Regions from separate parts of the Homo sapiens genome. Here regions 1, 2, 4, 5 and 6 are each linked to region 3. The links are contacts of gene promoters, found by promoter capture Hi-C in blood cells and fetal thymus (Javierre and others, 2016). All regions are on one chromosome and are shown on one strand. Each heading gives the region's core, a stretch centred on a gene start or on the middle of the fragment in contact. The rest is flanking DNA. Distances are from core to core; before and after follow the strand shown. Region 1 overlaps CSRP1 (cysteine and glycine rich protein 1). Region 2 has its middle 6.6 kb from the start of PHLDA3. Region 3 holds the start of IPO9 (importin 9). Region 4 holds the start of TNNI1 (troponin I1, slow skeletal type). Region 5 overlaps NAV1 (neuron navigator 1). Region 6 overlaps CSRP1-AS1 (CSRP1 antisense RNA 1).

What was found. Contacts are between HindIII fragments. The CHiCAGO score rates a contact against its expected background, and 5 or more counts as called.
Region 1: a fragment that was not itself captured here is called in contact with the fragment with the promoter of IPO9 in region 3 in 4 of 17 cell types (M1 macrophages, endothelial precursors, erythroblasts and 1 more); the score reaches 7.4 in M1 macrophages.
Region 2: a contact is called between a fragment that was not itself captured here and the fragment with the promoter of IPO9 in region 3, in 1 of 17 cell types (monocytes). The highest score is 5.7, in monocytes.
Region 4: the fragment with the promoter of TNNI1 here is called in contact with the fragment with the promoter of IPO9 in region 3 in 7 of 17 cell types (M0 macrophages, M1 macrophages, erythroblasts and 4 more); the score reaches 15.4 in M0 macrophages.
Region 5: a fragment that was not itself captured here is called in contact with the fragment with the promoter of IPO9 in region 3 in 7 of 17 cell types (endothelial precursors, monocytes, M2 macrophages and 4 more); the score reaches 13.2 in endothelial precursors.
Region 6: a contact is called between a fragment that was not itself captured here and the fragment with the promoter of IPO9 in region 3, in 7 of 17 cell types (endothelial precursors, monocytes, M1 macrophages and 4 more). The highest score is 10.8, in endothelial precursors.

The regions. Positions count from the first base shown.
Region 1 is chr1:201,494,115-201,499,021 of GRCh38, forward strand. It overlaps CSRP1 (cysteine and glycine rich protein 1), which reads right to left. Exons shown (of 6, transcript NM_004078.3): 2 at 2,078-2,190. The coding sequence starts at 2,189. Among named protein-coding and RNA genes, the nearest start is that of CSRP1, 11 kb to the right of the region's middle. The HindIII fragment of the contact is 1,091 bases long and covers 806-1,896 here.
Region 2 is chr1:201,473,436-201,478,124 of GRCh38, forward strand. No RefSeq gene overlaps it. Among named protein-coding and RNA genes, the nearest start is that of PHLDA3, 6.6 kb to the left of the region's middle. The HindIII fragment of the contact is 283 bases long and covers 2,453-2,735 here.
Region 3 is chr1:201,827,836-201,832,614 of GRCh38, forward strand. It overlaps IPO9 (importin 9), which reads left to right and starts at 1,322. Exons shown (of 24, transcript NM_018085.5): 1 at 1,322-1,537. The coding sequence starts at 1,375. IPO9-AS1 (IPO9 antisense RNA 1) reads right to left here and starts at 1,724. Exons shown (of 3, transcript NR_046696.1): 1 at 1,116-1,724. RefSeq lists enhancers at 1-435, 436-949, 1,106-1,400, 1,412-1,621 and a silencer at 1,122-1,361. The HindIII fragment of the contact is 2,219 bases long and covers 1-1,992 here.
Region 4 is chr1:201,418,544-201,423,512 of GRCh38, forward strand. TNNI1 (troponin I1, slow skeletal type) reads right to left here and starts at 3,187. Exons shown (of 9, transcript NM_003281.4): 1 at 3,130-3,187. The HindIII fragment of the contact is 15,457 bases long and covers 1-4,969 here.
Region 5 is chr1:201,554,126-201,559,043 of GRCh38, forward strand. All of the region lies in intron 1 of NAV1 (neuron navigator 1), which reads left to right. Among named protein-coding and RNA genes, the nearest start is that of NAV1, 17 kb to the left of the region's middle. The HindIII fragment of the contact is 2,570 bases long and covers 1,418-3,987 here.
Region 6 is chr1:201,530,641-201,535,345 of GRCh38, forward strand. CSRP1-AS1 (CSRP1 antisense RNA 1) reads left to right here. Exons shown (of 2, transcript NR_160747.1): 2 at 2,784-4,144. All of the region lies in intron 1 of LOC124904484 (a long non-coding RNA gene), which reads right to left. Among named protein-coding and RNA genes, the nearest start is that of NAV1, 6.1 kb to the right of the region's middle. The HindIII fragment of the contact is 1,234 bases long and covers 2,013-3,246 here.

The DNA of each region.
Region 1 (4,907 bases), core at 101-2,600, 330 kb before region 3:
GCCTGACTTTCTACAACTGTTTCTCATCCGCAGCGCCCCTCACACCCTGCCCCAGGCCCTGTTCCTTCCTTCCTATGCCACCCCCTGAATTCCTGACTTCCCTCAACCCTCTGACCGACTACTCCTCCGTAAACAGGTCTGCAGGCAGGCACCCCCGCCCACAGCTGACCCCTTATGGTCAGTGATTAAGCAACATCTGAGAGCAAAGAGAGGGGCCCTTAGGACCCCAGCAGCCTAGACCCCCTTCCCAGCCAGCACCAAGCTCTCTCTTATTCCCTCTGGAAAGATAAACGGCTTGGAAATTCCTAAGAGTAGTGAACTGCTGATAACAAGACGCTGCTGTTTCTGGCCTCCTTTGCAGGCTGGAAGCCAACAAAGCTCCACTAAACCTTGTTTACTCCCCATTCATCAGACGCAGCCCTGGAGCTGTCACTCCAGGCCCGGCTGAGCAGGATGTGGGGCCCCTGCTGCCCTGTGCGGGGTGGCCTCAGGTGGGTCTACCTAGCGACAGGCAGAGATGCAAACGTCCATTGAACAGGTGGCTCTTGGCCCATCTGTATCCTACTCTGGAGCACAAATCATGAAACTTTGCTTCGTGTAATGCAGAACAGACAGGACCCCATTCTTGGATCTCCCCATCTTCAGGGGCCTCAGACCCTGGTGAGGGCTTCTTTGTATCACACCATCTTGCTACAGATCCCTCAGCAGTGTGCGTGTGTGTGTGTGCGTGTGCACGTGTGTGCGCATGTGTGTGTGCATATCATTTCTTCAACACTCATAATCATTTTAAGTGCTTTGTCTTACAAGCTTCTTTCATTTTAATTCTCACAACAATCCCATGAGGTAACTATTATTACCTCCTCCGTAATAATGAGAAAACTCAACCAGAGAGAAACTGAGTAACTTGTCCATCATCACACAGATAATAAACACCGAATCTTTTTTAACTAAGACATTCTTCTACCATCCATTCTGCCTACCATCATGGGGAATGTACCTTGGCGGGCACAGTGGCTCACACCTGTAATCCCAACACTTTGGGAGGCTGAGGTGGGCAGACTGCTTAAACCCAGGAGCTCAACGCCACCCTGGGTAATATAGGGAGACCCTGTCTCTCTAAAAATTTTTTTTAAAAATTGGCAGAGCATGGTGGCATGCATGTGTAGTCCTAGCTACTCAGGAGGCTGAGGTGAGAGGATCATTTGAGGTGGAGGCTGCAGTGAGACACTGCACTCCAGCCTGGGTGACAGAGTGAGACTCTGTCTTAAGAAAGAAAATGCACCTTGCTGAAGTTGCCTCTTCTTCTAACCCAGACCTTCTGCTCTGATCACAATGAACCAACTCATTTAGGAACCTGAGGAGAGGCTTCACCAAGTTGCCACATCCTGGAAACATCACCTGGCCCAGGTACCAGTGGGTGCAGCATCACGGTGTCAGGATCCCTGGGTCGACCTGACCTCTGTCAGTTGCTTGGTATTCTTTTGTCTGATTTCTTACTCATCTAGGCTTATGACTGGAGCAAACCTTGCTCTGGCTTCTTAGGAGTAGATATCAGGGAACTTTGTACTCCCTCTTCCTCTCATCCCAGGCTGAGTGGGAATGGGAAGTGAAGAACTGAACAGGCCAGCCTGCAAGGGGCTGAGGAAGGAGGAGCCCCACTCTTCCTCCAGATTCAGCTTCACCATGAGGTTGTGGCCTCTGTTGCCTTTGAACAAGAGATAATTAGGGTGCAAAGGGCTGAAAGTGTTTTCCTCTGAAATGGTGAAATCATGACAGGGAGAGAGAGAAGAGAGAGCTGAGTGGAAAGTTTTCTTAACCAAGTCTTTACAGCTTGGCTTTCAGCCCCTGAACGCCTGCCACCCCGACCCGCTCTGGCCAGTTCATCCCTTAGAAAGAAGCTTCTGAACGGAACAAAGAGGCCCTGAAGTGTTTCCCTGCCCAGCTGCGCTTCAGCCAAATGTCAAGCTGTTTACATCCCATGGGATCAGTTCCCTGGGGTGTTGACAGGCCCAGCCTGTGGGGGCAGGCCCGTCCAGGGTGTCCAAGGCAACAGCAATAGGGCCTGGGGCGTACTCACTGCACAGGAAGCAGGATTTATGGAAGCTGTTGCCTTCGCACTGAACCTCTTCGGCAAAGTAAACCGTCTTCTGACACACCCCACATTTCTTGCCTCCTCCCCAGTTCGGCATTCTGAAAAGGGACACAGAAATGGGAATTAATTTTACAGGGAGATGGAAACATCTCAGATTGTCCACGACAGAAATGCAACAGCCAGATCCAGAGGAGAGAAAGACAAAAGTAGAATGCCTGGGGGGCCACCAGGCCTGGCAGAGCACTTTCTGCTAGCTCTCGACAGCAGCCTCGCACGTTCTCGGGGATTTCCTCCCCCCAATCTAATCAACAGGTCTTTACAGAGCAGCTGCTGCATTTTCAGCCCTGTGCTAGGCACTCTAAAGGATGTGGATCAGCAGAAGAAGCAGGCTTTATAAAGAAGGCTCCAGCTGCAATAAAAATGGACTGCCTACCCCTACACACGTCAACATGGACGGATCTCAAAGAGAATGTGGAAGAAGCAGACAGACCAGAGCTGGGAAAATGCAAGTCCATTTGTAGGAAATTCACAAATGGGCTAAACTCATATTGCCAAGGGATGGACATATAGGTGGAAAAGTTACTACAGAAAAGCAAGGGAATGATGATCACAAGCTTTTACCTTAGAAGAGTTACCTCTAAGAGAGGGAAGGGACCATGACTGGGTTGGGAGACCAGGGAGGCTGGTAAGGCACTGCCTGGCAATGCTCTCCTTCTTAACTCAGGGTGGTTGTCATATGGGGGCTCACTTTATAATTATTCTTTGAACTGTACATGTAGGTTTTGTGCACACTTTTGTATATAAGCTATAGCTCACCACAAGAAAAAAGTTTTTTTTGTTTTGTTTTGTTTTTTAAATGCAGGGCTGGGCATGGTGGCTCACGCCTGTAATCCCAGCACTTTGGGAGGCTGAGGCGGGCAGGCCACCTGAGGTCAGGAGTTCCGGAGTTCCAGATCAGACTGGCCAATGTGGCGAAACACCATCTCTACTAAAAATACAAAAATTAGCCAGGTGTGGTGGTGCGCCCCTGTAATCCTAGCTACTCTGGAGGCTGAGGCAGGAGAATCACTTGAACTTGGGAGGCGGAGGTAGCAGTGAGCCAAGATAGCACCACTGCACTCCAGTCTGGGCAACAGAACAAGACTCTGTCTCAAAAAAAAAAAAAAAAAAAAAAAAAGGCAGGAGGTAGGCACACAGGGCAGTTATCAAACTTCAGAGTGAGGGGCTTTTGCAAAATCAGATTTAGTAACACCACCCCACATCTAATGAATTATAACCTCTGAGAATGAGATACTTGAGAGAATGAGGTACTTGAATCTGAATTTTTAACAAGCACCCCAGGCAAACAAAGCAGGTGGCCCAGACCAACTTTGAGATGCTCTAGGTGTTGGTTCAGAGCTGGCGTCCTGATGCCATGCAGGTTTGGCTCAATCTTGATCCTGCCACTCATTAGCTGTGTGACCTTGGGCAAGATAGTCAGTCTTTCCAAACCTTGATTTCTGTATCTGTTAAATAAGGATAAAAGCTGGGTGCAGTGGGTCATGCCTGTAATCCCAGCACTTTGGGAGGCTGAGGTGGGCAGATCACGAGGTCGGGAGTTTGAGACCAGCCTGACCAACATGGTGAAAACCTGTCTCTACTAAAAATAGAAAAATTAGTGGGGCGTGGTGGCACCTGCCTGTAATCCCAGCCACTCAGGAGGCTGAGGCAGGAGAATCGCTTGAACCTGGGAGGCAGAGGTTGCAGTGAGTCGAGATCGCGCCATTGCATTCCAGCCCGGACGACAGAGCAAGACTCCGTCTCAAAAAAAAAAAAGGATAAAAATAGCGACTTCACCGAGTATGTCTGGTGATTAAATGAGATATGATATGTCAAAGGCAAGGCACAGTACTTGGCACATATACAGCACACAGAAGTCCAAGTGATGCCTCAGGTCAGTGCCCACGTGGCCACAGAGCAGCACGGAAGGTAACACTAGTGAGTGTGGAGAACAGATGGGGCCTGCTTCTCTCCTTCCATTTCACTCGCTCACTCAACAGACGTGGCTGAAGGAGGAAGACCACCCTTCCAGCTCTTTCAACAGAAGTTCATGAGGGAAGGGCTATACAAAGCACCACCTACAGTGGGTACAGGCTTGGTGCCGGGGGTTGCCCAGGACTTGGTGAGTAAAGGACACAGGGAGGTGCCGGGAAATAAAGGGGCTGGGAGTCAGAGGGATCTGTTGCCTCAGGAGGCAAAGGAGCCTAAGGAGAGAGCTCACGGAACCTGTCACATGGAAATGTTGAAAACCGGGATGTGGCAACGAGAGCCCACCCTCCTGGTAACAGGGCTTGCACCAGCAGCTGGAGAGTCAATGTCAAGGGCAGAGGGAGATACAGTCTCCATTACTGGAGAGCTCCCATTTGAGGGTGACACGGGCCTCAGCTCAAGAAGGGATCCAGGTCACGTTCACCACTCTGTCCCCATGCTCTGCATAGCACTTGGCACGTGGCTGTTCATATAGGTGGCCAGGAAATAGCTGAGGAATGAATGAAGGATGCACTAATATCGAAAGCCACAGCTTCTGGGGCCATTTTCTCTGCATGGTGAATCTCTGCAGAGCCTGGCTCCTAGTGGAGGTGCTTGGTAAGCGTGTGCAGGCTGAGAGGCAGAGCTTACTGTGGGGAAGTGGTGTTAGTGATGCTGGGGGATCTAGGTAGACCATGCCTGCTGCATAAGCCCAGTTCTCCCTTTCCCAGGTTCTGGAGCAGCCGCACTTCCTCAGGCTCCCACACATCGCTGACATGCCCCGCAGGAATTTCTGTAACTGCTCACA
Region 2 (4,689 bases), core at 1,344-3,843, 350 kb before region 3:
GTACTTTCCTCTATCCCTGGCTCCAGCCACAGTCCTCACCATCCCTTGAACTTGGCAACCATCCTTCCTCAGGGCCTTTGCACCTGCTGTCCTCACTGTCTGGAATCCTCTCTCCCAGATCACCAAATGGTTCATTTTTTCACCACACTAAGCTGTGTTCACGTATTACCTTCTCAATGGGGTCTTCTCCCAACACTGTGTTTAAAGCCACAACCCCCTTCCATAGATGTACATACACACACTGTATCCCGTCCCTGCTCAATTTTTCTCTATGGCACATATTAGCATCCACAATTGTATTTTTCTTACTTATTGTCTATCTCCTTTACTTGTGGGCTCTATGCCAGCGGGGAGTTTGTTTTTTGTTTGTTTGTTTTTTTGAGGCAGAGTCTCGCTCTGTCGCCCAGGCTGGAGTGCAGTGGCGCGATCTCAGCTCACTGCAAGCTCTGCCTCCTGGGTTCACGCCATTCTCCTGCCTCAGCCTCCTGAGTAGCTGGGACTACAGGCGCCCGCCACCATGCCCGGCTAACTTTTTGTATTTTTAGTACAGACGGGGTTTCACTGTGTTAGCCAGGATGGTTCCAATCTCCTGACCTCGTGATCCGCCTGCCTCGGCCTCCCAAAGTGCTGGGATTACAGGCGTCAGCCACCGCGTCCAGCCTATCTGTTTTTTTTACCCCTGTGGCTCCAGCACCTAGAACATTGCCTAATACACTGTAGGAACTGAATGAATAATTATCGAATGAGAAAATGAAATGACAATGTACCTGACAAAAACTGGGAGGTGGAAAAGGATAATGCAGAGGAGGGGAAACAATCAATGCAATCTAGAGTTAATGAACTAATGAAAAGAATGTAACTGCATTATTTAAAACAATGGAAACCACTAGATGGTTAAAGGAGATTTTTAGGGCAGCAAGACTATTTTGTATGATACTATAATGGTGGATACGTGACGTTATGCATCTATCAAAGCCTGCAGAACCATACAACAAGAGTGAGTTTAAACCATGAACTTCAGTTAATAGTAAATGTATGAATCTTGGCTCATTCATTGTAAAAAATGTAGCACATTAATGCAAGATGTTAATAATAGGAGAAACTATGGGGGAAGGGTAGGTATGCAGGAACTCTGTTCTATCTGCTCAAATTTACTATACATCCAAAACTATTACAAAAATTAAGTATTTTAATTAAATACCAAAAATAAATGGTTTGCCTGTAATCTCAGCACCTTAGGAGGCTAAGGCATGAGGATCGCTTGAGCCCAGGAGTCTGAGACCAGCCTAGGCAACATAGTAAGATCTTGTTTCTCCAAAATCATTTTTTAAATATAGCCATAGTGGGGTACATGCCTGTAGTCCCAGCTACTCAGGAGTCTGAGGTGGGAGGATGGCTTGAGCCCAGGAGTTTGAGGCTACAGTGAGCTATGATCACACCAGTGCACTCCAGCCTGGGCAACAGAGCAAGACCCTGTTTAGAAAAGTAAATAAAAATTTAAAATAAATTGTTAACAGTTTCTCTAGGTAACAATGAAGAAGAAAGATAGAGACTTATTTTTTCATTGTTCACCAATCTGTATTGTTTGATTTTTTTAAATCCTGTGCATGCATTGCTTCTCTAAAAATCTAGTTAACTGCACAGTACATAAATGTTCATGCGGTGCAGCAGTTGAAAATACACAGATCTACAGGTCTTAGTAGGTTGAGATGCCTGAAATACGTTGTTTCATGGGGAAACATTACAGTACAGTGAGTTAATAAGGTATATAGCATGGCCACAATGAACAAAGTCCACCTCTGTTGTACAGGTTATATCTAACAGGATTCAATTCACAGTGATATGTTACTTATGGAATGTCCAGGATGGGGATGGGCAGTGTGAGAATGCCTGTCATTTTATGAGCATGCTTCAATATGGTTTGGATGTCATACTCATGTATTAGGCATATTTTTAAAATAAAATAAACACATAGGTATTACATAAGTTCTTGAAATAGAATTTCAAACGCAAGGGCTGGCTTCAGAGCAGGGGTTGATTTAGAGGCTTGAATGGCAGTTATTGGCCTCCAGGCATTCCCAGGATTCCCCAAGGTGGGCACATAGAGCCTCCTGATGTCGGGTGTGTACACTAGAACCGAGCAAACCCAGAGCTGAGCATGCAGCCCCTCCTGTCTCTGTAGTTCTGGAGAGAACTCCCCAACCTTGGGGAACACAAAAAAGGGGCTGGTTCCCCCACAGGACCCTGGGCACCTATTCCATTATCCCCTGGCAACTGGAGTTGGAAGGCTCATCTAGGCTGCCTCAATTTGACCCCCAGTCCAGAAAGAGGTGTGTGGCATAGACCAGCGCTTCTCAGACTGCAGTGTGCAAATGGATCACCTGGGGATCTTGCAAATGCAGATTCTGATGGAATAGGTCTAGGGTAGGACCTGAGATTCTGCACTTCTAGAAGCTTCCAAGTAACACTGATGCTGCTAGTCAACAGAACATACTTTAGATAGCAAGGGTCTAGAGCAGCGGTTCTCAAAATGTAGTCTCAGGCCAGCAGAGTCAGCATCAGCTGGGAACTTGTTAGAAATACAAATTCTAGGCTCCACCCCAGACCCGGGTTTGGAGCCCAGCAATCCGTGTTTGAACAAGCCCTCCAGGTGATTCTGACGCCCACGTGTGAGAACCACTGGTGTAGGGGAAGGAGCACTCAGGTAGGAGACAGGACACCCATGTCCTAGCCTAAGCTTGGTGACACCTTACACAATCACTTCCTCTCTCTGACCTCAGTTTCCTCATCTGTAAAATGAAGGCTGTCAAGTTCTATCTTGCAGATTCAGTGCATATTTGAAAAAAAAAAAAAAGCCTGGCTAGTTTATGGGAGCTATGTAACCCCTGTATAGGCAAGAAAAGAAAACATCACTACTCCTTCCTCAACCTGTTCCCTGGATTCCTCAGGCCAGGTAGTGCCTCCTCACCTAGATGGGGCATGAAAATGGGTCTGTTCACAGCCCTGCTCCTCCCCACCCTGCTTCTCCCTTCAGGCTTCTGCACCCACCCTCCAATCCACAGGTCCCTCACTGCTCTCCTCTCCCTGGGAGCTGGGGGCTGGGAGACCCACTCCAGCTGACCTCTCCCTCAGACTTCTCCTGACCTGCTCGCACCGCTTTGATGTACAGCCCTTTGTTCCAGGACTTTGGGGTTTCCTCGGATCTCTGTTTTTCTAAAGGGAAACAGAAGGAAAAACCCTACCAAGGTTTCAAGTCTCTGATGACTTGGGTTTTATGGGCACCATTGCGACAGACTTCAAGTGGGCAGCAACTCTGCAGCCGACCCGCCCAGGCTTGCTCCTGGGCCTGGCTCTCTCAGTGGAAATCCCCTCCCACGCTCAGCCCTTTAATCACTTTCCAGCCCAATAACTTTCCTGATTCACCAAGAATCCCTTTCGTCTTGAGAGCACCTACTGCCCCCTCTGATGGGGCTGAGTCTGGGCTTGAAGGCATTTGATCCCAGCGTGGGTCTTACAGAGATTGGACTTGTGGGCTAATGGTTCAGGTTGGGGCCTGCAGAATTTTCCTTTTTCCCATGCCATCTTGGCATCTGGGTGCCCATGTTGTAGGAAAAAATGGGCTGCCCTGGAATGAATCTCTTCCTTGAGGACACTTGACCAAGGGGCAATGACACTAGGAGGAGACTGACTGATACCCAGGAAACTAGTGGCCTCAACCAATATGCCAATAATAGCCATGAAACCCTTGACATAAAAGTTGCTTTCTCTTTTCTTCTAGTAATAATGTGCTTTAAATGCAAGTAACACTTGAATACATTTTTGTTGCAAAAGATTCAAAACATGACAGTATCTTTTCACCACCCTTCTAGTCCCCCAACCCCAGAGACAACAATCACTTAGCTTGGTTTGGGTCTTGCCAGATATTTGTTTTTACTTTTCACACATCTGCACCCAGACTAGTATAAAGCAGCATTCTCAATGGTAATGTAAGGGAGTTGGTTGAAGGATTCGTAAGTCCCCTTCCAGCTGTGCCATTTTCTGCATTTGTGGGTGGCTTTTCCCTCTCCTCCTAAATAGGAGACATTCATAGGCTCTCCCTAAAAGTATGGGGGGAGGGGGAATGCACAGAGGAAAATAGGAAAGGAAAGGTCACAGTGTCAACAGCAGTTCCTTCGAGGTGAGGAGATCATGGATGAGTTTTTTACCACTTGCCTCTGATTTTCAAATGTTTCATCATGAGAGTTATAAAGATTATTATTCGTGAGTATGACTTTGATAACAGGGAAGCTCCTATGCAGTGCCATTGTCAAGATCAGGCAGAGAAGGAGGCTGTGAGTTGTCCAGCCTGAGGCTTAGGTCAAGGAGAAATTAACAAATTGCTCAAGGCAGAGGGGTGTGTGGAGGGGCTTAGGGAGGGGAGGAAGGCTCATGGCATATTCTTGGATGTGATCTACAGGAAGATTCATAGAAAGGAACTTCAGAGTAAATCCCATTGTGTGTGAATTAAGAATTAAGTATTCTTAATTCTTAATTCAGGCCCTGGGCTAGACTTTAGGGACACAATGGCAAATGGGTGAATCAGAGTTCTCTACTTAACAGGGACTAGCAAAAGAAGGGGAGGAAGAGTTCACATCTTTAGGAATCCCACCCTACTTTTGCAAGAAGATATTCCTTCCTACTGAAGAAGAC
Region 3 (4,779 bases), core at 72-2,571:
CAACATTCTATCCTTTCTGCCACTACATGCTTGCCACTCTGCCCTGCATTTTTTTTAATTTTTATTTTTTTTTATAGACAGAGTCTGTATATCTTGCCCAGACTGGAATGCAGTAGCTATTCATAGGTGTGATGACAGCACACTACAGCCTGGAACTCCTGGGCTCAAGTGATCCTCCTGCCTTGGCTTACATCTTGCTTTTTCTTCTTTTTCTGAGACAAGATGTCACTCTGTCGCCCAGGCTGGAGTGCAATGGCGCAATCACTGCTCACTGCAGCCTCCTCCTCCTGGGCTCAAGTGATCTTCCCACCTCCACCTCCCGAACAGCCGGGACTACAGGGCGTACGCCACCACGCCTGGGCAATTTTTGTATTTTTTTGTAGAGACGAAGTCTCGCTATGTTGCCCAGGCTGTTCTCGAAATCCTGGGCTCAAGCGATCCTCCTGCCTCGGCCTCCCAAAGTGCTAGGATTAGAGGCGTGAGCCACTGCGCCTCGCCACACCCTGCATTTTTAACACCTCACTGGAGCGCTCATCCTCTCCACCTGCTCCGCTATTCAGGAGCGGCTCTGCACCGTAGGCCATTTCCCACGACCAGCTGCTGACAACCATATCATCAAACTGCTCTTGTTCTCGCACCCCTTAAATGTCCAGCCATAATTTCTCAGGGAAAAAAATTTATACATTTTCAACAAATAGGATTCATTCTCAAATAGTCACATACAACACTCACTCTGGAAGAAACTCCCTTTCACATGCCGGTGTCTCCCCTGCCCAGCCACTTCCCAGCTTTGAGGTTGGGCTCATCTAGGCTGGAAAACCAAGGGACTGGGCCGTGGTTTTCCCACTTCCACTTCCCAGTTTGCTTTAGTTTATTTTCCCCCCTCTTTGGATTCCTGAGGCTAAGATGAAGAGAGTCACTTGAGCCAACTTTTTTTCAGTGTTTGGGGGGAAAAGAATGTGGTTTAAAATAGGGGCTATTTGTGACCCAGACCTCTCTCCTTAAAGCCCTCTACATCTATTCCCATCCCGCCTCCTCTCTCCTAACACCTGAAAGATGCATGAATATAAAGTCATATATCATGAACTTTATTCCAAATGAGATTGCTAACTTACTGTGCAACTTTAGGAAAGCCCCTTAACCTGTCTGGGGCTCAGTTTTCACACAAATCCAGAGATCCTTGCAGAGAAAGGTGCAGTTCTCGTTCAGGCAGCAGGAGGCGCTGTCTCTGGAGGCTTAGATTCATTCCCCGCCCTCCGCCCGCTCCCGCCCGCCTCTGGTGCGCAGGCGCGGCTTCGCGGATTGGCCGCGCGCGGGGGCCGTCATTCGGTGGCGGGTCCCGGCCGCGGGGCTGGCGGGCTGAGGGGAGAAAAGATGGCGGCGGCGGCGGCAGCTGGTGCGGCCTCCGGGCTGCCGGGTCCAGTGGCACAAGGATTAAAGGAAGCGTTAGTGGATACGCTCACCGGGATCCTATCCCCAGTACAGGAGGTGCGGGCGGCTGCTGAAGAACAGATTAAGGTGCTGGAGGTGACGGAGGGTGAGTGAGGCGGGACCGTCACGAGGATGGCTCAGCCGCACAATCCGCTGACCGCAGCTCCGTACCGGCTGGGGACATGGGGAGCCTGAGCCAGTTGGAGATGTGGGCGCCGAGAAGTGGAGCAGGAAGCGAGAGATTGATGTCGCTGGTGGTTGTGAAAGTCCGAGAGAGGAGAGGCGCGCCTGAAGGATAGGGTCGGGGGAGGTGGAGCCTGGGAGTGGGGGAGGGAGGGTGGAGACTTGAAAAGATAGATGGAGCCTAGAATCTGCAGGGGACGGAGATGGAGCTAGACTTGGTGCTGTTGGAGGAAGTAGCGCGGTCGGGGAAATATTTTTTGAGTCCAGGACCAAAGTCTTTCGCTGTTCTCTTCACCAGCTGGATTGTACTGGGATAAGAGTAGGGGGAGCTATTAGTAGGAGTGGTGAAGGGTAGGGCCTCGAAAAGGCGGCTATCAAAGCTTAATAGATGTCATCAAACAAGTTTCTGCCTCTGAGTTATAAACCTAGCTAGTTGTTTGTACTCTTCGTGTTTTCCCAGAAATTAAATGCATATGCGATTGCTTCACTGTCCTGACCATACTTAACGTTTATTTTAAAAATAATTTGCCCTTATTAAATACCTTTGTGCATTTCTGTTTGGAGGAACTGATCATCCTTTGTTTTTGATTCTTTGTCTCCGTCCTCTATTGTGTGCTTTAAAGTGATGGAGAAGAAAATAAACCATTGGTTCGAGATTTTCTATCAATTTCCTGCCGCGTGAGCCTTTCACCGGGTCCAGTGTAGCTACCACAAAGAACAATTTAATCCAGAAACAGGAGGAGAAATCTTCTTGGTCTTTGTGTAAGAAATATATCTGGTCAGAGCTTCACTGGAACTCCAAATCCTCAGAATCTCCCAACTCAGGAATATTTCCACCACCACTTAAATACTTCATCAGAGATATGGGAAATTGTCCCATCACACACCCATCATATTCAAAACCTTCAGTTAGCTCTCCTACTGGACGTATTTCTATTGAAAAGAATTTAGAACAAATCTCTCTTAAATTTAGTTTACATTCTTTCACAGTATGAAAGAGCTGTTGAAAACAAATTTTCTTCTGTTGGAAATATGTTAAGATTTGGGATCTAACAGGCTAAGGACCATTTTGAAGGCCCACTTGTAATTGTCATTGTTTTATAAAATATCAGATCTATACAGGAGAAACCACTGGTTAGGAGAAAGCTGTTTGAGAACCATGTATAAACTAATCTAAAGGAATTTTTAGCGGCTTCTAAATAAAATTCGTTTATGCACATTAATGTCTGTCCCCCTTGAGTATGAGGAAGGAAGAGTGACAAAGCAAAGGAACCTCATCACATTCAAGTTGTCACCTGAATAAAACTTGAGAGTCTGGTGCAAATTCATCTTAACTAAACCTTCCCTGAGTGGTACCCAGTGCTCCTGGTGCTCCAAATGCATGTCTGGCACCTTTGTATGAAAGGTGGACCTTGACTTGTATTTAAACTGTCTTACAACAACTCCACTTTTGCTCTGATCTTTTCAACTTTAGCCAAATGCCATGGTCTCATCTGGGCAAAGTCAATTATAAAGTTCTCGAGGTCTTTTTTGAAACTCTGATTCCTCACTTTATTCATCTTTTTTTTCTTGAGACTGGGTCTCGCTCTATCGTGTAGACTTTGGAGCAGTGATGCCATCATGGCTCACTGCAGCCTCAAACTTTTGGACTCAAGCGATCCTCCCACCTAGGCCTCCCAAAGTGCTGGGATTACAGGCCTCAGCCACCACACCTGGCATCTTTTTGAGCCTTTAAGTGAAAAATTAAATTTCAGAAGTACAGAATTTTGATCTAAGTCACTGATGAGAAATAGATCGACTGCCCCCCGACCCCCATAACTTACTGGTAATGTGCTGTTGGGCAGACTATGAGAATGAAAAGTATGGAAAGGCATCGATGCAGTGACCTGATATTGGTGATCTAGTAATAGAGCATATGACTCAGGTTTTGGATTTGGTTAGAGGGTTGGATCAGTCTCTGGAGTTTAGTGCAATGCTTCGGACCCTTTGGAGGCTGCTTGTGTCTTTTAAGTAGTCTGGCTCCTTAATGTCTATCAAAAAAACTATAGAGATTTACCCCCTTCTGTACCTGTTTTAAGGTGGAGAATGGCGGTCCATTCCCTCAGATGCGGTCTGCTTTCTTCCTCTTGTGGCCTTTAACAAGTTATCTTTGACATTGGGTTCAGAGTACCTCCCACCTTAAACTCTGTCTGAATCTCTCAGATGTTTTCTGAACATGGTGCAATATAGTAGCTGCTTCTTTACCAGCCTCAACCCTTCTTTACATGAAAACATAGAACCCAGCTTTCCAGCCGGGATTTAGCCAACTATCTGGCCTGATGAAACTGGCAGGACATGGTTCCTCCTATTAGAATGCCCTACAGAGCAAGATGAGCCATTCTTGCAAACTACTTTCCACTTCTTTGGTGTTGCTTCACATTTTAGTGTTTTTTGCTTTTGTTGTTGTTGTTGTTGTTGTTGTTGTTGTTTTGAGACAGAGTCTCAGTCTGTCGCCCAGGCTGGAGTGCAGTGGTGCGATCTCGGCTCACTGCAACCTCCGCCTCCTGGGTTCAAGCAATTCTCCTGCCTCAGCCTCCCGAGTAGCTGGGATTACAGGCACCTGCCACCATGCCTGGCTAATTTTTGTATTTTTAGTAGAGACGAGGTTTCACCATGTTGGCCAGGTTGTCTCGAACTCCTGACCTCAGGTGATCCACCCGCCTCGGCCTCCCAAAGTGCTGGGATTACAGCCGTGAGCCACTGCACCCAGCCCACATTTTAGTTTTACCCTGGTAGAAGGAACCTTGTTTTCTGATTCTAGGAAACACTTTTTTTTTTTTTGAGACCGAGTCTCACTCTGTGGTCCAGGGCCCAGGCTGGAGTGCAGTGGCATGATCTCAGCTCACTGCAACCTCCACCTCCCAGGTTCAAGCAATTCTCGTGCCTCAGCCTCCCAAGTAGTTGGGATTACAGGCATGCACCACCATGCCTGGCTAATTTTTGTATTTTTAGCAGAGGCGGAGTTTAGCCATGTTGCCCAGGCTGATCTTGAACTCCTGAGCTCAAGCAGTCTGCCCACCTCAGCCTCCCAAAATGCTGAGATTACAGGCATGAGCCAACCGGCCAGGCCGGAAACACTCTTAAAACTTGAAGTTAATGAGAAATCTGGGATTTGGTGTCTATTAT
Region 4 (4,969 bases), core at 1,937-4,436, 410 kb before region 3:
TATCCTGTGGAATAAGGGTGGTCATTGAAGGGCTCAGAGAGAGGAAGGCCTAGAAAGTGAATGAGCAGAGTGGATGCTGGAAAACGGGTAGCTGCCACATGGCACAACTCCATCCACAGATGGCAATGCAACTGGCACCTCCAGGGTGGGGCAGTGGGAGGCCTTGAGTGGGAGAGAATAAGCCGCAAGGCAGGGCAAATCCCGTGTTCACCCTAGTCTGTCTTTCCCCTCTCTGGGTTGGTTTTCCTCTCTGCAAAATTAGGGGTTAAATCAGTGAGTTTCCTCTTGATGTTTATTATTAATAATAAGTAATTAAAATAATATTTAATTAATATTATTTGGTTGAATCCTTTGTCCTAACCAAATCTTACTTGGAAGTAAAATAAATTCAATCAGTAAAAGCAAAATGGCATTTTGCCTATCAGAAGGTGGAGGGTGGGAGGAGGGAGAGGATCAGGAAAAATAACTAATGGGTACGTCTCTCATACCTGAGTGATGAAATAATTGATACAACAAACCTCCATGACACATGTTTACCTGTGTAACGAACCCACACATCCTGCACATGTACCCCGAACTTAAAAAAAAGTCAAACAAACAAAAAGAGCCAAATGGCACTGGTTGAAGGGGGCTCCCATAGCAGCCCTCTGGTCTTCTGTGAGGACACTTGGCTGTGGAATACAATTTGAAGCCCCCTGACCAGGTGATCCTGGGGCCCAGGCCAAAGAGGGGGTCCGTGAGGCTGCAGAGGGAGATGTTCCAAAACCAGACATAATTCACCGTCTTGCCTGGGCCTGGACACAGGGCATTCCAATGCAGGGGAAGGGAGGAACTGTGCAAAAGCTCAGGGAAAGGAAGGGGACAGCTGAGGTGGAGAGCAGGTGTGCAGGGGCGCACAGGAGCCCTGAGCCAGGCTGTGAAATGAAGGATGGGAGAGCCTAGTGTGTGTGGAGTGGGCAGGCATGGAGCTCGGGGGCAGGAGTTTGGACTTGGTTCAAGAACCTTGTTGTGGGGTCTGGGAAGTGGGGAATTAAAAGACACTTGTAAAGTGCCTGCCAATAATTGTATCCCAGAGCCACCCCTTCCTCTGCCCTAATTCTCTCCTTTCCCTTTGTGCCCATGAAGCACTATCCCAACCCCAATGAACACAGCTTTGGCCACCTCCCCTGAATCTCCCAACGGGTCAGAAAGCCTTCTGGGCCTCCCTCCACCTCTGCCTCCGCCACCAGGGGAGGGTAAGGCTGGGGTGGAGGAGGTGGAGGTGTAGTGTGACCCCAGAGTCTCAGCTGTCATGCTGGGGCACAGAGGGAGGGGTATGGAGACAATCCATGAATTCCTGAGATGCTTGGCTGGTATTAGATTTTATGGGCAGCTGCTTATTCTTAGGGCTCTGCTTCTCCAAAGACACTGAGGAAGTCCAAAGGAAACACCAGCTGGCGAAGAGCCACCTCCAGGCCCATCTGTCCATCATCAGCCTCCAGGAATGCCAGTGTCCAGAGGGCACCAGGTCTGCGTCTGTCTCCCTGGGATGTGCCTTGTCCTTGGTGGGCATTTGGCAGTGATCATGCCTCCCTGTCTCCCTCAGAGATCCAACTGTCCCCATTGTGGGGCCCTACCTTCCAAGGCCGGTTTACACCTCCTGCCAAGCTCCGGGGCCTGCCCCCAGCCTGCCTCACTGACAAATGCCAGACCAAGGGGTCCCACGTCAGGCAAGAGGCCTCAGCCTGTGCTCTGACACCCCTCAGACGGGGGCCCTTGCCAGGCTCTGTGGAAGACAAGCGAGGACTGATAAGTCAGGATGAAGATAGCAGCCACTGGAAGGCTTGGAGAGCCAGGATTCCATCTCCTCTACAAGTAGCAAGCAAGGAGATAATGAGAAAATCCTCCCCCCGAGGGGGGGAGCAAAGAGTCTCTGGTGGTTGCCTCAGAGCTGGGCTTTCCCTTCCTTGAGGCTTTGCAGCGTGGAAGGGACTATCCGCTAGACTATGAGATTGAGTCTGTGTGTGTAAGTGTGTGTAAGTGACTGTGTGTGAGAGTGTGAGTGTGAGAGAGAGAGCGTGTATATGTAGGGGAAAGAACTGATCTCTTTGCACACCCAATGATCACGTCCACAAGTATCTAGTTAGGCTCATGTGCTTCCCCCTGCTCCCCGCCCCCTGACCTTGGACCCCCATTCAAGGGCATCCCTGTCTTCCTTGACTGACGGTTAACACTCCCAAGTGCATGGCGCTGGGCTGCCCCCATCTTGAGTTCTGAACAGCAAAGCCTAATCTCAGAGCTGCTGTGGGACTGTGACTCCCAAACCTGGTGGCAGGTGCTGCCTTCAGCCCCCACCTGAGTCAGGGACCGCCACACGGCCCCCTGCCCCAAGCCTTGGGTTACCCTGTAGATACTGCCCTGGCTTATGTGTTCACTGGCTCCTGTGCCCCAACCCAAAATGCCGCCACCATTGCCTTCCTCCAAGAGGACCCCCAGTATCTACTGCTGCTTCTCAGAGCCAGGAGCTCTGAGCAGGAGCAGTCAAGAGGGGTTGCCGGTCTGCCCTCCTCTGCTCTTGTGCTACACTACAGAGGGATAGGCAAAGGGAGCTAACAGCGTCGCTCAGAGACAAAGAACACAGAAGCAAGATGGTTTCCTTGGCCAGCAGGGAGCTCTGGCCCTGCCTTCTAGGCTCCCTGGGAGTCCTGCGCGTCAGGCACCCTCCTTCTCTTCCGCTGCAGGCATTGCTGACTTTGAGCACTCACCCTGGCTCTCTGATCCCAGGGCCACCCCTTCCCCTGGGTGCGCTCTCCCTCCCACACTCTGCTGGGCATCCTGTGTGAAAACATCATCCCTTAGGCTCTGCCCTGGGGCTCCTAAGGAACCTCACGGAAGATTCTGCTCCTTGCTCACAGCCTCCAAATGGCCAGGAAAAAGTTTCACCTCTCACAACAGTTTTGCAGGAGAGATGCCATTCTGTGGGACAAAATGCTGTGGGAGTATTTTAGGAATGTTCTACCAACAAACCAACTGCACAGGCAAGAAATGGTTTTCTCCAGCTCCAAGACCTCGCTTTCTCCTTAAACAAAAGCCCCAGGTTCTCTGCCTGGGATCAACCTACATCTGAAGTTCTGGGCTGCAGACGCTTACCTTGTTCAGTCCTCGTGGAGCTGGGCTGGCCTGTGCCTCGCCGTAGACTGCAGACTGTGAGGGGCAGAGCCGAGGGGAGGCTATGAAAACTGTGTCCAGCAGCAACTGGCTGGTAAAAATAGAACAGACCCACTGCCCCCTCCTGCTGCCCCTCCTCCCTCCCACCCTTCACACACACACACACACACACACACACACACACACACACACACACCTCACAGGGCAGATGCGTGCTGCAATGCACACAACAGGCACATAGGCGGAAAGCCATGTGAATTTGTGGCTCAGGAGCAGAGGCAAATTCTGTGCACATAGGTGCCACCAACTGAGTGAAACCAGCACCCACCTGGGGAGACTCGAGCTGCAGAAAGGGAAAGAATGAGCAGCCAGACCAGGTGTGGGGACTGAGCAGAGATGGGACTGGGAGGGGGAATGAGGGAGAGCAAAGGGCCACAGTGAAGGCCCAGAGGGGCAAGTAGCAGCTGGGGGAAGAGGACCATTGGGCTAACCCTGCATCTCTTATAAGGCAATATGGAAATGAGGCCCCTGAACCCATGCCCCAAAAGCCCAAGAGGGCTAAAGACTCAGCTTTCAGGGATTTTTCAGTGGCTCTGGTGCACGTGGGATACGAGGGTGCCTGGCTGTGGGGAGTGATGTGAGCAGTGTTGCAGGCTGACCCCAGTGAGTGTTTCCAGGGCTGAGCAGAATGGCAGTGGCAGCAGGGCACACCTTTATGCTCAGGGAGGTCTGAGGGTCTGCAGACACTCTGCATCCCCCTCCAGATGGGTTTCCTGGAATCTAGATTTCCCAGGTTCCAAAGGACACCCGAGTCTCATGCCTGGAACTCAGTGAGACTAATTCACCTCTCCTCTGCCCTAATCTTCATCTCCAGCCAGAAGCCAACAGATCCCAGGGGACTGGAGCCACAGGGGCTGCACCTGTTTACCGGGTATTTTTAGGATGGTTGATGAACACATAATACCCACCCTATAGTCAGAGAAAGACAATGCCTGCTATGTTAATCCTGTGGCTATTATAGTCTGTCATCTCATGGGTTGGGGCAGGACACTGACCCTCTCAGAGGCCAGAGAGAGGCCTCGCAAGCAGGAGGTTAGGGAGCCCCAGCCATGCTCCCCATTTGGAGAAGGAGAGAGTAATGGGCAGGGGTGTCCTAAGGAGACACACCCCAGTGCCCACAGAGGTAAAGGCCCTGCCCTCTCTACAACGACATTCTGCTGCCTAATAGAGGTTGCTCTAATTCTGTTCTGGTCGGGTCAACTTTGAGAAGCCTCTATGTGAGACGGCTGCCAGGGAGAAATGACAGGGTCTGGGGAGGCATAGGGGTTGGGGACATAGGATTCCAAGTGGAGAGGCTGTGATGGATAATGAAGGCAGGCTCCAGCCAAAAGGAGCAGCTAGAGGGGAGAAGGAATTTAGGGGCTTTGCAGATGAGCCTACTGGAGTTTATTGCCTTGGCTTATTATAATTTATACAATAACTTTCCATTTATTTATTTATTTATTTATATACTTTTGGAGACAGAGTCTCACTCTGTCACCCAGGCTGGAGTACAGGGGCTCTGTCACCCAGGCTGGAGTACAGTGGCTCACTGCAACCTCCACCTCCCGGGTTCAAGTGATTCTCCTGCCTCAGCCTCCTGAGTAGCTGGGACTACAGGCACGCCACCATGCCTGGCTATTTTTTATATTTTTAGTAGAGATGGGGTTTTACCATGTTGGTCAGGCTAGTCTCAAACTCTTGGCCTTGAGCAACGCACCTGCCTCGGCCTCCCAAAGTGCTGGGATTACAGACATGAGCTACCATGACCAGCCTATACAAT
Region 5 (4,918 bases), core at 1,453-3,952, 270 kb before region 3:
TCAGATCATTTGTAGAGGGGCCCCTGGTTTCCCCATAAGACAGAATGTTATTCTTTAATCTGAATTGAGCTGACACGTGTTGACAGACAGGGGTGTCTGGCCCTGCATGTGGGAAACACAGGTCCACGTGCAAGACTGGAGCCTGTGGTGGGGAGACACTGGTGACCCGGAGCCAAGAAGTGACATGATGAAGCTGTTTTACCAGCAGGACGGCCCTAATGGCAGGGACCACGTCTGTTCTGTTCACCGATGGGAAGCCAGCACATAGCACAGAACCTAGCAAGCAGTGGGCATTCCATAAAGAGGTGTGGGACCAACTAATGGCTTGGAAGAGGGAGAGTTGGGCCAGCAGATGTACTGTCACGTTCCTGACATGCAAAGTCTGGGCTAGGGCGGCCCTGCTGGGGAAGGAAAGGAAGAGCCGTGGGAGAGACTTTTTACAAAGGAAAACCGAACAGGACTGGATGACTGTGGAACATGGGAGGGACACAACAGAGAGCAGAATCCAAAAGTCGTGCAGTCTTTTTGGAAGAGCACTGGACTGAAAGTTGAGTCCCTCCTGCACCTTTTGGCATATAACCTGGGTAACTCATTTAACCTGTCTCAGTCTTAGAGTCCTTATCCATCAAATGATCAGTTTGCTAGGGCTGCCATAACAAAGTACCACTAAGTGGGTGGCTTAATGAAACAGAAATCTATAGTGTCAGTTCTGGAGGGTAGAAGTCTGAAATCGAGGTGTTGGCAGGGTCATACTCCCTCTGAAATTAGTGGAGAATTTTTCCTTGCCTCTTCTAGTGTCCGGTGCTTTCCGACAATCCTTGTCATCCCTTGGTGTAGAGACACATCACTCCGATTTCTGCCTTCACCGCTGCATGGCCATCTCCTCCCTGTGGCCTTCACATCCTCTTCCCTCTGTGTATGTCTATGTCCAAATTTCCCTCTCCTTATAAATACAGCAGTCATACCAGATTAGGAGCTCACTCTACTCCAGTATGACCTCATCTTCACTAATTACTTCTTCAATGACCCTATTTCCAAATAAGGTCACATTCGGAGACACTGGGAATTAGTACTTCAATTATCTTTTTTGGTGACACAATTCAACCCATAACATGCCACCTGCCACAAGATTGAATGAGGCAATCCTTTGTCATTGTTGCAGGTAAGGCAAGAATCAGGGGAGATTTTGGCCAGAGACCTACTTTTAACATTCTATGTGACCTCGTTCAAATCTCTTCTCCTCTCTGGATCTCAGTTTCCTCATCTACAAAATGATCTGTAATGTCTTCCCTAGATGTAAATCCCACAACTCCTTGACTCTGAAGCTCTGAGGTTTTGAGTCTGGGGGCCTGGGAGAGCTGTGGAGCTACTAACAGATATGGGGAAGTCAGGAGGGTAAGCCAGTCTGGGGATCAGAAGCTTCCTCTAGGTTCCATCCCTCATTTGGGAACTCAGCCCTCTTCTCCTGGTGGCCGGGACCCTGGAAAGTCCCAAGCATCTTCTATCCCCATCCCCTGCGCCATCACCCCTACCTTAGTGAGGCTCAGAAGGAGGGAGGGCTGCTATAAATAGCACCCTGGAATCAAAAGGCCCTCTTCCTGTGCAGGAAACACAGCGGCCTAATGGAGGCAGGAAAAAGGTGTTTCCGAAAGAGAGGCCAGAAAAGGGAGGGGCAGTGGGGATTCGGGAGCCAGATGGGTTCCCGGGTGCTGGAGCAAAGGTGCTGTGAAGGGAGATGGGGGGCGGGGGGCGGGGCAGATTTAATAACAGCTTCTGGGGTACTACTTGAGGTCGGCCTATCTGGAACCCCAAGAGAACAGTCTGTGGAAAAGGCCCAAGAGGTATTTGAGTTGGGAGACTTAGGATTTCAGGTCCGAAAGTGGGGATTGAAAATGCCACATTCATTAATTCACTGATCCATTCATTCATTCACTAGATATTAGCCACAGCTTAGGACTGTCCTAGGTGCTAAGGACAAACAGTATAACGCTCTTTTATAAAAAATAGTCTGAGACCTGGAGCAGTGGCTCATGCCTGTCACTTTAGAAGGCCAAGGTGGGTAGATTGTTTGAGCCCAGGAGTTTGAGACCACCCTGGACAACATACAGAGTCCCCATCTCTACAAAAAATAAAAATAAAAAAATTAGTCGGGCATGGTGGTGGGTGTCTGTAGTCCCAGCTACTCGGGAGGCTGAGGCAGGAGACTTTCTTGAACCTGGGAGGCAGAGGTTGCAATGAGCTGAGATCGCACCACTGCACTCCAGCCTGGGGGACAGAGGAAGACCCTGTCTCAAAAAAGAAAAAAAAAAAAAGGTCTGGTAAGCAAACCAGTGATTACACCCCAGTTGTAATAGCTCAGGACAGTGGGGGGACAGTGGAGGGACTGTAACCCCTGGAGGGGCAGGAAGGGCCTCTTGGGAGGTGAATTCCTCCTCCTGGGCTTGCAGGAATTAAGTCAGGCAAAGACTGGGTTGGAGGGGAGGGAACTGGGGGGCCTTCCAGGCAAGGGGAGAAAAATACTTGGACTCTTCCCCTCTGCTGTCCTAGCCCCAACCTTAGTCCAACCTGGGCCAGCAGCAGAGGTCTAAGGACCAGCCCTGCCCCCTCCATAGAGGCTTGCCACCAGTCCTTGGGGCCCTCTCTGGAGAAATGCCCCTCTCCTCACCAGCAAAGAGCACCATCCTCCAAATGCCTGTGTGGAAAACGGGTCTCAAGTGACCTCTCAATGGAGAGCCCTAGAAAATCATTAGTGTTCCCCCTGTAAAAACAGGGGCTTAATTCTACGGGCAAATATCTCAGGCAAAAGCTCAGACCAGTAGACTCGTCTCTGGTGCAAAGGAGGAAGATGAGTCAGCCAGGGTCCCGGGAACCCTGACTCCATGATCCTGCCAGACCACAGGGCCCCCACTTAAGGCTTGGAGGGGGCTGAGATGAAAATGATCTACTGTTTCTCTTAGGAAGCCCTAGGGAAGTCCAGTTTGGTGTCAAGTTGAAGATTTCTATGCATTCCCACGGCACCAACTGTGATGGTGAAATGCCACATTTCAGCCCCAATCATTCAGCCAGATTGGATTGCAATTAGTACCTGAGGCAGGAGCCCAATGCCCTCTGAGGTGCCTGGGTGAATTTCAACTTCTGTGCTGCTCCTTTTGTGAAACAATGCAAGAGATTCTGGAAGAAAGACAAAGGGTTGGGGGATGTGCTTGTCCAATGTCCTTCAGCACAGCCCACAGGACAGCCTTCAGACGTGTCCTGAGGCTTGTGTGCCCAATCACACATGCAAGGAATTAGGGGCCTGCCTTAGGGCTTGATTCCAGGACATTTACTCCCCATGGGGAGATCACTTACAAAGCTGCACTGTGGCCCCAGAGGTTCCCCTGGGCTAGTCTTAGAGAGAATTAAAGTCAGAAACCACCCAGCCTCCCCAAAACACTTAACTACCACCTCCAAATTAGCACCGTCCTTGGCTGGTAATCAAATTCTAGGAGATAGTTCCTGATCTTCCCAGTTTTCAGGTGGGTTAACTGAGGACCGGCTTGCCCACACCACTTAGGCTAGATAGAACAAGTAATTAAAGCCCAGAAATAGCTGGCTGAGATCCAGCCTGTTTAATGTAATAATGCTGAGAAATGTCAAACGTGGTTTTGTTCCAATAGGAGTGGAAGGGATGAAGAGAGACAGGAAGAAAGCACTCTATGTAGTTTCTGGAGTTGGCTGTAGAAGGACGAAAGGACTCCTCAGGGGCTGCGGAAAGGAAGCCATCTATGTGCTGGGCGGTGACTGAGCTGTGCATGGAACCCTGCGCAAGGGGCTTGGAGGGGCAGAAAGGAGGAGGCCTGGACTCCAAAAAACAAAAACAGAAACCAGGGATAAGAATAAGGGTGAAACAGAACTGGGTTTCTATCCTGCTGCCTCTTCCTAGCTGTGCGACTTCGTGCATATTATTTATCCCCTCAATGTTTTCGTGCTTTGTAGGAGCCAAGGGAAAGCTTTCCCACCACCCTCTGAAACTTCACTGAAAATAAACTGACGATATGTAGATAAAAGGCAGATAAACTTATTTAACGTGCATAAGCTCATGGGAATCACAGGAGAATGGTCACTCCATAACCCAGTGAGGTCCAGAGGCTTATATACCCTTCTACATAGGGGAAGGGGAAATGCGGGCCATATGGCCATTTTGAAGAGTAGGCAGTGATTTTTCGGGGAAATGAATGAGCCCAGTGCTCAGATAATGGTTAGTAAATCATTCTCTTTGGGAATTGAATGGAACCAAAGAACGAACACTGGTTTGGGACAAAATTTGTCTGGGATCTAGGTGTGGTGTTTTTTGTTTGTTTGTTTTGAGATGGAATCTTGCTCTGTCGCCCAGGCTGGAGTGCAGTGGCACAATCTCGGCTCACTGCAACATCTGCCTCGCGGGTTCAAGCGATTCTCCTGTCTCAGCCTCCTGAGTAGCTGGGATTACAGGCGCACACCACCACGCTGGCTAATTTTTGTATTTTTGGTAGAGACGGGGTCTCACCACGTTGGTCAGGCTGGTCTTGAACTCCTGACCTCGTGATCCACCCGCCTCGGCCTCCCAAAGTGCTGGGATTACAGGCGTGAGCCACCGCGCCCGGCACAGGTGTGGTGTTTAATTTTCAGTCTCTTCCTCTGTGATATGAATTTTAATCTTCTATGGTTAATAAAACTTCAGGGAAGGAATCAAAAGCAATTGTGTTCCTCTTTGGGGTCTGGCTTCTAGGGAGATAAGAGAATTCCAGAGAATAGTCTCATCCTGTGCTTTGAGAAAGATGGATGATTGAGAGGCAGGAGTTGGGGTGGGGGAAGTCAGAGGTACCTTGAGTCTGCTTCTTTAGTTCAGCATGTCAAAAGGCCATATTATGGGGTATCGTTTTCTGAGCCCCAACACCTT
Region 6 (4,705 bases), core at 1,380-3,879, 300 kb before region 3:
CTAAAGGAGTGTTGCTAATGGTTTCCCAATTTAGTTTCAAGGGGATTGGCAGCAGGGTTTTCCAGGCCACAAAGGCTGAAGGGGGACATACTATTAGTCTGTCTCACTCCTCCCAGAAACTCAGTCTGGGTTTACTGTAATTTCATCTTAGTCTCGTCAAAGGCACTCCAGATGAGGAGATTCTGAGCTGGGGTATTTCTTCCTACCCCTCCCAGACAGATTGCAAGGTTTTTCCAATACTGCATTCTCCCTGGGGCTCTCCCTGGTTGGCGTGGAGAGAAAAGCGCCAGCAGGGGTCAGCAGTGTCCCACATCTGGCCGGGAGCTGCTTGCCACATGTGCTGTTTCTTCTGGCACGGCACTGTCAGAGATACTGGGGAAATTGGCGAGCACCGTTCCATTGAGGCGTTAGCATCATTATGAGCATCGCAGGCTCAAGATTCCTCTCCCTGAAAGTGGGGTGGGCTGGATGAGTGGAGGGTGTGTTCTTTATAAGCACTATGTGGGGTGTGGGTGTAGAATCCAGACATCAGCAATGCCAACTCACCATCTGGTTTTCTATCGGGAGGTTTTTATGTGTATTGGCGTGAGCAATATATTGTGTCGGTCTGGGTGTCAGAGGACGCGTGTCAGAGTTGCCTTGTTGAAATTTTCCCAGGGACCTGGGATTTCTGGATTCACCCGGTATCCAGGCTCTCCCAGAGCGGCACTTTAGCTGGCCAAGGCCTGGAGCAGAGTGTGTGCAGCGCTCCCACGGCCGCCTGCCCGGGCCTGCCCCCGACACATGCTTAGTGGAATTCTCCCGTGGCAGCCCAGAGTCTCCGGAACGAAGGTCTCCACAGCCAAAGCCACGCAAGAGGCTCTCCTGCTCTCATTTCCAGACGCACCCTCATCCTTGGCCTCTCCCTGCCTCAGTTCTCTTTGACTCCTCCGGTCCTTGTTGCTGCTCAGCTCCAGGGCACCCCCACCTCCCAGGACAAGTCCCCTGACTTTACAGCTTACAGGCCCAGAATAACAGATGGCCAGAGGCATCCCATTCAAGACTCCCCGCCTCCTTCCTAGCTCCTCAGTCTCTCCCACCCCAATGTGGTGGTGCCCAGGGAGGGGGTCAGGAAACCACAGAGGGCCTGTGGGAGGCGTACAGCTGGGGACAAGCGTGGGCTGGAAGAGGAGCCCAGTCTGTAGCTGAGACTCCCAGGGCCTCATGACCTTCCAGGCAGCCTCCACCGCTGCTATGACAGGCAGATGCCCGACTTTCCACCTGCTTTCTGACCTGGCTTTGGCAAGGCCTGAGCACCTGGCCTGCTTTCCCAGGAGTACAGTTACAGCAGCTGATCTAGGGAACAGGTGTGGGCTCCGTGTCACAGCTGCTGCTGAGCACATCTGTACCCACAGTGAGGAGGCTGCAGCTGCAGCAGGGCCTGTCAGTCACTCATACTCTCCCCGGAGTTGGGCTGGGGGCACTGAAAGGGCCAGGGGTGGAGAGAATCTGAGATAAGCATTCACAGAGCACCTTGCTCCTAGAGATCCCAAAGTGTGACCCCTGACAAGGTTTTCCCACAGTCAGCCTCACTGGCACCAGCAGCGTGGGAATTAGGGCTGGATTCTCCCCTTCTGCCTTGCTTCCCAGCCCTTGGGCCACAGTCAGCTCCTCCTCCTTCCTGGCTAGCTCAGCTCAGCTTTTGCAGGATGGAACTCTGAATCCTGGCTTCCAGTGGCTCTCCCAGAAAACTAGGAGGGAAGTGCTTGGAAGAATGGCTCTTTATTCATGCAAATGATTTCTTGCCATTTAAGAGCCTCAAACCACAAAATCAATTAAAGAGAAAAGGGGAAGATTTGGGGGTCTGTGCCAGCCACTGGATGCAATGCTTTACCTCCATCATCTTATCAAATCTTCCCAGCAACCCTACTGCATAGCTATTATCAAGATCATTTCTGTTTCCCAGAGGAGAATTCAAGGTTACACAGTTAGGATGCAGTGAATCTGGGATTTGATTGCCGTCCTGACTCCAAAGCTTGCACTCTGACCACTGGGCCACACTGCCTCAAATCTCCCATTCTCTGTTAAATCCAACATCTGAGCCCCATTCTTTCTCCCTTGCAGGGAATCACCTGCCTACCTCCACCTCATCCATTTCTCACCACAGCTGGATTCACCTCTACAGCCTTTACCTCCAGTCGTATTTGGCAATTCATCCTTTTCCAGCTCCTATCATCCTCCCCTACCCTCACCAAAGTGGACATCGCAGCCTCTAAATCTGAACGGAGCTGACACCTAGCACCCACCCTCTCACCAGCTACCTCTGGGTTCCCCCACCCGGTATTCCCTTCCTCACATCCAAGCCTGTTCCCCTCAGGCCCTGTCATGGCCTGAAATAGTCTTTGCCCCTGTCTACCACTCTCCAGGGTCCCTCTTGACACCTACTTCTGCTTTCCCCTCTCAAGACACCTTTTCTTGGCATTTTAAGACTATTTACTGACTATTTATTGATATAGGAAAATGCTTACAGAATGTATTAGGAGTATCTTACACTTTTTTAATAATTATGTATGTAATACATGAATAGATTCTCCTTGTAAAAAACAAACTCAAACACACAGAAAAAGTTAATGACTCCCTTGATGACTGCCAGTTTGAAGTGTTTTTCCAGACCTTAAAAAAATATACTTTCATACAAGCATATGTACATATAGAAAGATATACTTTAATGGGGCATCTTTCATCATAAATTGGATCATAATGTGCAAATTGTTTCACAACTTTTATTCTCTGTTTGTTTTCAGACAGGGTCTCACTTTGTTGCCCAGGCTGGAGTGCAATGGCACAATCATGGCTCACTGCGCCCTCCACCTCCCAGGCTCAAGCCATCCTCCTATCTCAGCCTCCTGAGTAGTTGAGACAACAGGCATGTGCCACCATGTCTGGCTAATATTTTAATAAAATTTTTTGTAGAGACAGGTTCTCCATATGTTGCCCAGGCTTTGATTCTTCTAATGCTCGGTATTAAGACTCTATGACTGTGTATTATACATAGAGTTTACATGTGAGTAAGTTCTGGGTGGAGAGACACTATTCCTTGCTAGGGCCTTAAGAGTCTGGCTGCAGCTCTGCTATCACATGGGCAAAACCAGCTACATAATTTACAAGATCCAGTGCAAAATAAAAATGTGACATTTCTTGTTAAAAATCATTGTGAATTTCAAGATGGCAACAACAAAGCATTAAACCAAGCAGGGGGCCTTTCTAAGCTTGAGCCCCCGTGTGACTGCACAGGTCATATGCCCATGAAGCTGGCTCTGCAGAGACTAGCTGACCGTTGGACTGGCTGTGTCCTGGATTCTTTTAGTTAATGCATTCCGTGTTCTGACAATGGACATTCCTGTCTCAGCCTCCACATTGGATCTGGTCCCCTGATTCTGCACCCAACATTCCTCAGCCACATTCCCTGCTCCAAAGCCAGAGCTCTATGTATTCCAGCACAAGCAAAGTCCCAGGGTCCATGCCTGCCAGTCAGCATTGCTCTGGAGGCACCCACAAAGATGGCAAAGATGGGGGGTGAAGGGGGTATTGGACAATGATATTCCTGTGCCTCGAGTGGAAAGTCTCTCAGGAGATAAGAGAGGACTGAAGTACCAACCAAGAAACCCGGGTTTCATTCCCAGCTCTGCCACTAAATTTACTGTGTCCTTAATTGGCAAGTTGCTTAACATCTTGGCACTGTTATCTCTTTATCTGTTAAAGGAGAGAGTTTGATTAGATTGTCTTTAAGACCATTCCCACTTCCAGCTCTAAAAGTCTGTATTTAAGTGACTCTAAGAGACTGTAATAATAATAGATAACATTTGTTGACCATTACCTTATGCCATTTACATGTTGATTTAATGCTCATAACAACCGTATGAGGCAGGCACTGTTATTCCCATTTTACAGTTGAGAAAATTGAGACTCAGTTTAAAACATGCATGGGGAACAAGGTAGCTTTTTGGGGTGGTGGAAATGTTCTAAAACTTGGTTCTGGTCATGGCTGCAGAACTCTGTAGATTTAGAGTTGTATATTTCGAGTGGGTGAATTTTATAATATGTAAATTGTACCTCAATAAAGCTGTTGAAAAGAAATAAAGAAATGTGCTGAACTAGTACATGATCAAGCTCTCCACACTGCTATGGAGACTATCAAGACTCCTTTCCTCTGCATATATGTAGTATTTGAAAACATGGACTCAGGAGCCAGACTCCTTCAGTTCAAATCCTACCTCTATCACTTACTAGCTGAGACCCAGACAAGACACTTGACCTCAATTTCTTTACCTGTAAAGTGGAGATAAAAAGTGGTACAGATTTCATAGGGTTGTTGTGGAGATTAAATGGGTTAATATATGTTAAATGCTTAGCATAGCAGTTGGCACACAGCAAATGCTATATAAGTAGGGACTATTATTATCTTCCATACCACAGGATTGCCACAGCCAGAACCAGGCTTCTTAAAGGGGCAGGTTTTCTCCCTGCAAACCCAACCCCTATTCTCCTGGGCCCCTTAAAGAAACACCTCCTCTTCAAAGGCCATCTTTGGAAAAACACCACGATGGCTTTCAGTACATCTCACTTCCTGGTAACAGAGAGAGAGTGAGAAACAGCATCTTCCCGATAAGGCAGTGACTCGCTCACTCTCGTAAAACATTCATTACTCTGACAGCTTTTCCCCATG